2 separate regions of the Homo sapiens genome follow, and region 1 is linked to region 2. The links are contacts of gene promoters, found by promoter capture Hi-C in blood cells and fetal thymus (Javierre and others, 2016). All regions are on one chromosome and are shown on one strand. The core of a region is centred on a gene start or on the middle of the fragment in contact, and the rest is flanking DNA. Distances in the headings are between cores, read along the strand shown.

The links. Contacts are between HindIII fragments. The CHiCAGO score rates a contact against its expected background, and 5 or more counts as called.
Region 1: a fragment that was not itself captured here is called in contact with the fragment with the promoter of DHRS7B in region 2 in 1 of 17 cell types (neutrophils); the score reaches 7.4 in neutrophils.

What each region holds. Positions count from the first base shown.
Region 1 is chr17:21,353,707-21,357,971 of GRCh38, reverse strand. No RefSeq gene overlaps it. Among named protein-coding and RNA genes, the nearest start is that of KCNJ12, 21 kb to the left of the region's middle. RefSeq lists enhancers at 1-141, 142-712. The HindIII fragment of the contact is 8,001 bases long and covers 1-4,265 here.
Region 2 is chr17:21,125,509-21,129,417 of GRCh38, reverse strand. DHRS7B (dehydrogenase/reductase 7B) reads right to left here and starts at 2,454. Exons shown (of 7, transcript NM_015510.5): 1 at 2,427-2,454. The coding sequence starts at 2,446. RefSeq lists an enhancer at 2,133-2,792. The HindIII fragment of the contact is 14,531 bases long and covers 1-3,909 here.

The sequences.
Region 1 (4,265 bases), core at 852-3,351, 230 kb before region 2:
CCTCTGAGGCCTGCAGGGGTTGGTGAAGGGGCAGAAGCTCTGCCGTGAAGGGCAGGTCCTGAATGGAGCCAGAGTGGGGACTGGGAAGGAGGGGCAGGGCTAATGGGCTGCTAATGGCCCTGCAGCTGGGCTCTGGTGACCCCTGGCTCCCTAGGGGCCAGAAACAGTGCTAATGGGGCTGCCCCTCCCACAGCAGGCCCTTCCCTTCTGTTCCAGATCGGCTAGGCTGTTAAGGGGTAAGTGGCAGGAGAGAGGGAAGAGTGATCAGCCCCCTCCATTATCCCCACCACCTTGGCCCTCAAGGCAGCTCAGTGAGCCCAGAAACCAGCCTAGAATGTGGGGGAGGACATCGGCACTCCATCCCCTCATTACAGGCGGGGAGCTGAGGCTGGTGCATTAATCTGGTCCTGTTCACCTTTTCCCCTCTTGTTCCCAAGTTCATGGTTCACTTCTCCTCTCTGGACTCAAGCCCATAGGCACAGGCCGCAGCTGGCAGGGAAAGCCAGGGAGGGCACAGTAGGCACAGTGCCCAGGGCCCACACAACTTCCAGGATCCGTGGTGGGAGCAGTGAGAGGAGAGACAAAATAGTTTCAGGGCCTTGAAAGCCAGCTAAGTCTGAAGTTTGGATTTGTATCTGTGAGCAATGGGAAGTGAAGAGAGGGCTTATGATGGGAAGGTCGGGATCAGATGCTAGAGAAATCTCCAGAGAAAAGAGATGACTGCAGAGGCTGATATAGTAAATAATGGAGAATGGAAACAGAGGGAATATGAGTAGATGGATGAGTGGGCAGACGGGTGAGTATATTTACAGGGAAACAGACAATTGAATGGGGTGAGCAGGAGTGCTAAGAGGGATGTAAAGATGGATGGATGGATGAGTGGATGGGTGGGTGTATAGATAGATGGATGAATTGATGGATGAATGGATGGGTGGGGGATTGGTGAGAAGGTGCATGGTTGAGTGGATGGGTAGATGAATGGTGGGTGGATGAATGAATGGATAGATAGATGAATGGATAAGTGGATGGGTGGGTGGGTAAGATGGATGGATGTGTGAGTGAGTGGACAGATAGATGAATGGGTGAATGGATGGGTGGGTGGGTAGATGGATAAATTGATGGATGAATAAATGAGTGGGTGAATGGATGGATTGGTGAATTGGTGAAAGGGTGGGTGGATGAATGAATGGGTGGATGCATGGGTGGGTAAGTGGCTGGATGAATGGATGAATGGATGGATGAATGGATGGATGGATGAATGGATGAATGGATGGATGGATGGATGAATGGAGGGATGGATGGATGGATAAGTGGGTGAGTGGGTAAATGAATAAATGGAACGTAGCTGAATAGATGGATGGATGGATGGATGGGTGGGTGGTTGGCGAGGTGAGTGAATGGAGTCAAAGGGATAGATAGATGGGCAGGGCATGAATGGGTGAGTGGATGACTAACGGAAAGATGGACAGGGGATGAATGGGTGAGTGGATGACTAACGAATTATATTTCTCTCTATTCCAGTGAAGACGTAGAATATATTTTTAGTGTTTTTGTTTTGTTTTGTTTTGTTGTGTTTTGTTTGAGATGGAGTCTCACTCTGCCGCCCAGGCTGGAGTGCAGTGGCGCAATCTCAGCTCACTGCAAGCTCCGCCCCCTGGGTTCACACCATTCTCCTGCCTCAGCCTCCCGAGTAGCTGGGACTACAGGTGCCCGCCACCACGCCCGGCTAATTTTTTGTATTTAGTGTTTTTATTTTTTATGGATAAATGGACTCATTTAGGCCAAAGTGCCCTGGGTGCTTGAAAGTCATAATGTGGCCCTGGGGAAGGCCTAGCTGCCCTCACCTGATGGCTGGTTAAGGCCCTTTGTTCTCCTCCCTCCCTCCAGCCTTCCTCAGCCTCCAGGAGGTCTCAATTTCCCCACCTCCAGGCTTTTGCCCAGGCTGTTTCTTCTGCCTTGGATACTCTTGTCAAAACTCTTCTCCCCCAGGAAGCCCTCTGGAGCTGGCTTAGGGTCTGGTCTGGATTCCCGCAGATGCTTGGTCTTCTGTTTGAAACAGCCTCTACCCAGACTGTGAGCCCGGGGAGCGGGAGACGTGGGTGGGCAGGGGTGTGGGGGAGGTGGCAGTGGTGGGGAGCCATCATCTCTCCACACAGGCAGGAGCCCTGAGAAAAGGAAAGGACGGCCTGTTACGGCCGTTTCCCAGATCCCGTCCACGTGTCAGGTCCCTCATTACCGCCTCTCACCATCCCGCTTTCCAGATGAGGACCAGCCCCAGGTCAGTAAATGGCTAGACCCTTATTCAGCAAGAGTGGCCTGAGGCTCTGGAGGGGTGGGAGGGGCCGAGGGGAAAGGCTCCTGGAGATGGAGCCCAGGACCCAGCAGCAGCAACAGGAATAATAAGGCTATTACCATAAGGGAAGTGCAGCAGCCATTGCAGCTCGTCCCTTCCCTGCTCTGTGACCTTGGAGCACAATCTTAACTTTCCTGAGCCTCAATTTTGTCATCTGAAAAATAAGGTCAGTTATCACCCAACCAGGGGTCAAGAGGGATAATAGTGAAGGACATGCAGGTCCTCGTGGCAACATCCATGACTGCGGTTGTCATGCCTCCCAAGCTGGCTTCTTGGCTCCCCTCAAATCCTGCCGGCAAGGTCAGTCTCACCACATGCCTCACAGTGGCCTCAGGTAGGCACAGGGCCTGGAAGTGGGACCTGTCTGTGGTGGGCGCAAGCACCGGCATTGGTGATGGGGGTTGAGGGTGGTGGGAATTGACAGCTGGGCCGGCTGGGGAAGGGAAAGAACTGGGAAACCAGGCCAGACACTGCAGCATTAACGCAAGGGCAACAGGACACGGCCATAACTTCACCAAATGCCCGCGAGGGGCCCTGGGCTCGGCTTGGGGGTGGGAATCCACTGTGAGAAGAGGAACCACAGTCTCGCTGGAGGTGTTGGAGGCAGGGCTGGAAAGATGGGAGCCAACTTCCATTCATTCATTCATTCATTCATTCATTCCTTTGCTGAACACCTGCTCTGGGCCAGTCCCCGATCTGGGCATTGGAGACATAACAGGGCACAAAAGAGACAAAAGCCCCTGTTCTTGTGCAGCTGATCTTCTTGTGCAGGAGACAGACAACAAAAATGGAGATGCGTAAACTTCAGAGGAGGCAGTTTCAGGCAGAGGTCAAGGTATGAAGGTCAGGGTAGCAGGGTGGCGAATGAGGCGTGAGCGGCTACTTAGCCAGGGAGGTCAGTGAGGGCCTCTCCAAAGAGGGATGTTTGACAGGAGACGTGAAAACTGGTGCAGAGATGGAAAAAGAGTGTTCCATTCTGAGTGGGGGTGGTCAGCAGGCACAAGGCTTGGAGGCAGGACAGAGCATGGCCACTCACACAGAGAGCCCAGAGAAACAGAGCGCTGGCCCCGAGTCAGGGAGAGGCTAAGCCAGATCACGGGACCCTGAGAGCCACAGCACAAGACTTGAACTTTATATTTTTGTTCTATGGGGAACAGCTGGAAGGTTTTAAGCAGGGGCAAGATGGTCTCTCTGATGGGTTTATTTTTGTTGTTGTTTTGTTTGTTTGTTTGTTTTTGAGATGGAGTCTCGCTCTGTCGCCAGGCTGGAGTGCAGTGGTGCAATCTTGGCTCACTGCAGCCTCTGCCTACCGAGTTCAAGCGATTCTTCTGCCTCAGCCTCCCAAGTAGCTGGGACTACAGGCGTGTGCCACCACAACCAGCTAATTTTTGTATTTTCAGTAGAGACAGGGTTTCACCATATTGGCTAGGCTGATCTCGAACTCCAGACCTTGTGATCTGCCCACCTCAGCCTCCCAAAGTGCTGGGATTACAGGCGTGAGCCACCGTGCCGGGCAGGTTTATTTTTTTTAATTAAGGTACTATTTACATAATGTAAAATTAACCATTTCAAAGTGAACAGGCCAGGTGCAGTGGCTCATGCCTATAATCTCAGTACTTCAGGAGGCCGAGGCAGGAGGATTGCTTGAAGCCAGGAGTTCGGGACCAGCCTAAGCAACATAACAATATTCTGTCTCTATTTTTAAAATGTATTTTTTAAAATGAATCATTTAGTGGAATTTATTATACTCATAATGTTGTGCAACCACCACCTTTATCTAGTTCCAACACATTTTCATCACCGCAACAGAAAACCCTGTCCCCATTTCCCCTCCCTTCAGCCCCTGGCAACCACCAATCTGCTTTCTGTCTCTGTGAATTTCTCTGCGAACACGCTGGCACTTTTGCCTTTG
Region 2 (3,909 bases), core at 1,205-3,704:
GGGTCTTTAAGTAACAAGATACAAGCTCCTCCTAGTCTCAAGACCTCACACATGCCCTTCCCTCCTCCTGTTAGCTCTTTGTCCAATTTAACTCCAACTCAGTCCTTTAAGTCTCAGCTAAATATTATTTTCTTGGGAAAGCCTTCCCTGTCTCTCCTCATTTCCCCCTCCGCATGCCGGTGACTCCATTATGTATCCTCACAGCACCCTCTACTGTCCTCCACAGCATGCATCACAATCGTAATTAATATTTAGTTTTATTTATATATTTACTATCTCCCTTGCTAGATTTATAAGCAATTTAAAGACAGGGGCTTTATCTGTTTTGATCATCATTGTATCCACAACACCCAGCACAATGCTGGTACACTGTAAACGTTCAATAAGTATCTGAAGGAATGAATGAAATTTGTAGCTAAGCGCTAGGTTCTGGAGTGACATGGCATTGGATCGGCCTTTACTAGCTCTATGCCTTTGTTGTTGTTTGTTGTTGTTGTTGTTGTTGTTTGAGACAGGGTGTCACTTTTTTTTTTTTTTTTTTTTTAAGACGGAGTCTCCTCGCTCTTGTCGCCCAGGCTGGAATGCAGTGGCGGCATCTCGGCTCACTGCAACCTCTGCCTCCCAGGTTCAAGCGATTCTCCTGCCAAAGCCTCCCGAGTAGCTGGGATTACAGGCGCCCACCACCACGCCCGGCTAATTTTTGTTTGTTTGTTTGTTTTGAGACAGAGTCTCACTATGTCGCCCAGGCTGGAGTGCAGCGGCGGGATCTCGGCTCACTGCAAGCTCCGCCATCCGGAGCACGCCATTCTCCTGCCTCAGCCTCCCTAGTAGCTGGGACTACAGACGCCCGCCACCAAGCCCAGCCAATTTTTTTGAATTTTTTTAGTAGAGACGGGGTTTCACCGTGTTAGCCAGGATGGTCTCGAGGTCCTGACCTCGTGATCCGCCCGCCTTGGCCTCCCAAAGTGCTGGAAATACAGGCGTGAGCCACCGCGCCCAGCCAATTTTTGTATTTTTTAGTAGAGACGGGGTTTCACCACGTTGGCCAGGCTGGTCTCGAACTCCTGACCTCAGGTGATCCGCCCGCCTCAGCCTCCTAAAGTGCTGGGATTACATGTGTGAGCCACTGCGCCCAGCCAAGACAGGGTCTCACTTTGTCACCCAGACTTGAATGCAATGGCGTGATCTCGGCTCACTGCAGCCTGTCTCCCAGGTTCAAGCAATCCACTTGCCTCAGCCCCAACAAATAGCTGGGACTACAGGCGTGTGCTACCTTGCCTGGCTAATAGCTCTATGCCTTTGGATAAACTTCTTAACATCTCTAAGCCCATTTCTCCCTCCATAAATAAAAATTATAGTTCCTATGATTAGGGTTATTACAGGATTGAATAATTCAGTAAAGGGATTAGTACAGTGCCTGTAACATAGCAAACACTCAAAAAATATCAACTATTATTAAGGAATGGAGAAAAGGGGACATGTACATGGTAGGGAAGGCATATTCCACACCCTTGGCAAAGGCACAAACATAGCTTCCATTATGCAAACACACCGTTGCAATCGGCAACAGTGTAAGCAAGAATTCTGCTTACTAAATGTATGAGTGTGTGAAACCCAAACGTTACTTCAAAAGTAACTTCACGATTCTCCAATCACTACATGGAAGGTTTGGAAACTGAAAAAAAGAGCATTATGTGGCTACCATTTGTTGAATACCTACTATGTGCCAGACACCAGCTGAGCACCTTGCACGCGCAGTCTCATTTACGCTTCACAACAACCTTATGAGTGGGCTTGTTACTCCCAAAGTTACAGCTGAAGAAACACTCAGAGTTTAAAACATTTGCCCAAAGCCGCACAGCCAGGAAGCCGCAGAGTAAGTATTGGAAGAGCAAGATATCTCAACCAGCCATTCCCGTGGACGCTCGAGTCAGCACCCTCCTCCTGCCTTCTGAAAAACCGGACTTCCTTTGCTAGTCCTAACTCGCCGTCACTGGCTAAGGTGCCACTGGCCCCCAGCGCTCAACCCTCGGTCCTGCCACTCGCAGACGCTGCGGAGCCTCCCCTACGTCGCGCAGAAATGTGGGAATAAACAGGTTGAAGCCAGGAGCCCTGTGGGCGCGAGGCCTTTCACACACAGCGCCCGGCGCGACACCCATTCCCAGCAGCGGAAACTGGACTCAAGACACCTCGGCGACAGGCGGGTTTCCCCGCCACGCACTCGCCGGAGCCAGGGCTCTGGTCCCAGCGCCTGGGCTGAGTCTTCCTTCAGAGTTCGGCGTCGCGGGGATCCGGAAGCCGCCCAGGGCCCGCGGCCTTAGCTCGACCACTACACCGCTTCCCCTCACCCAAGCCGGGGCGTCGCCTCAGCTCAAGGCCAGACCCTATCGCCTCATCTCGGAGGTTCCTTCTTCCCCAGCCCCTACCTGGTAGCCGGAGAGACCATAGTCAATCAACTTCATCCTCCCGCCTCGGAAGTGACGTGTACGCAGCCGGCGAGGCTCCGTCCAATCCCAGCATTGAGGCTGCGCATGCGCGTTGGGTGGGCGTCCCTCAAGGTGTACACAGGACCCGATGGACCCGAGATCTGATAGGGTCCACCCGCATAACTACAGTGCCTTCATCTTCCGGAGGGAAATTCCGAAGGTCGTGGTTGGTGTTCCGTGGACTTCCGGCGAAGAACACAGTTGGAGAATTCACGATACAGTTATCAAGATGATTATAATGCCACAGTAATCAGAACAGTGTGATAACTGGCACAAAGGTAAAAACAATGAATGAAAAAGAGAGAGACCAGAAACAGACCTGCAGCTATGTAGTCACTTTTTCCTCCTACAAGTAGCCACTGTAATGCAATAAGAAGAGTTTTTTCAATATATAGTGCTAGGTCAATTGAAGGTCGATTGGGGGGAAATGAACCTTGACTCCTATCTCAAGTAAAATAATTCTAGACGGATGGTAGACCTGAATGTGAACAATACAACTCTAGACAATAAAATCGCAGAATATTATGACCATAAGAGAGGAAAATAACGTGTTAGCAGAACACAAAAAGTGCCAGTCCTAAAGGAAAAAGCTGATAAATTGGGTGTCTGTAACTATAAGACACCGAAAAGACCCCATTGAGAAAAGGGAAAGACAATAGAACAGACAAGATATTTGTAATACATATATCTGAAAATGAATTTTATTCAGAATATGTACGTACTTCTTGCAAGTAAATTTTTTAAAGGACCCGAAGTGATTTAAAAAAAAAAAAAAAGCATGAAAAGAGGATATTGAGAGAGTAAAGGGCAGAGGAAGGAAGGGGCAGGGCAGAGGAAGGAAGGGGCGGGGGGACTCTTATCGTTCAAAATCATAAGATGGCAAATGTGTGTAAGGTGGAAAATCTCCCTTTCTGTTCTCCAGGACCCACTTCACCTCCCCCTAGGTAACGATGCTATTAGCTATGTGTGTCCTTCCAGAGCCAGTTTATTCATAACCAAGCAATTATGTATGTATTCAGCACCCCCTTGTTACACAAACAATAGCATTCTGAAACGTCCTTCTGTTTCTTGCTTTTATTAACTTTAGCGAATTAATATATCCTGGAAATTCTTACAGATATTCACAAAATCTGAAAATGGGAAATTTTATTTTTAACTAAATATTTATTTTTGACGTTTTCACAAAAGTTTTTATACCTTTCTGGCCCCTCTCCATTGTTCTGGAAACTCTAGATTCCTGCTTGCCAATTCACAAAGTTTGAATATCCTTGTAGCAAACCCAATATGAACCGTAAGGCAGAAAAATAGGGTCTGGAGACAGGGAACCTAAGGCCAATTCACGCTGACTTCCTAGAACTAAATCAAAAGGAAAACCCGAACTTTCCATGCCCAGGTAACAAAAGGAACAGAAGCTAGTCCCTTT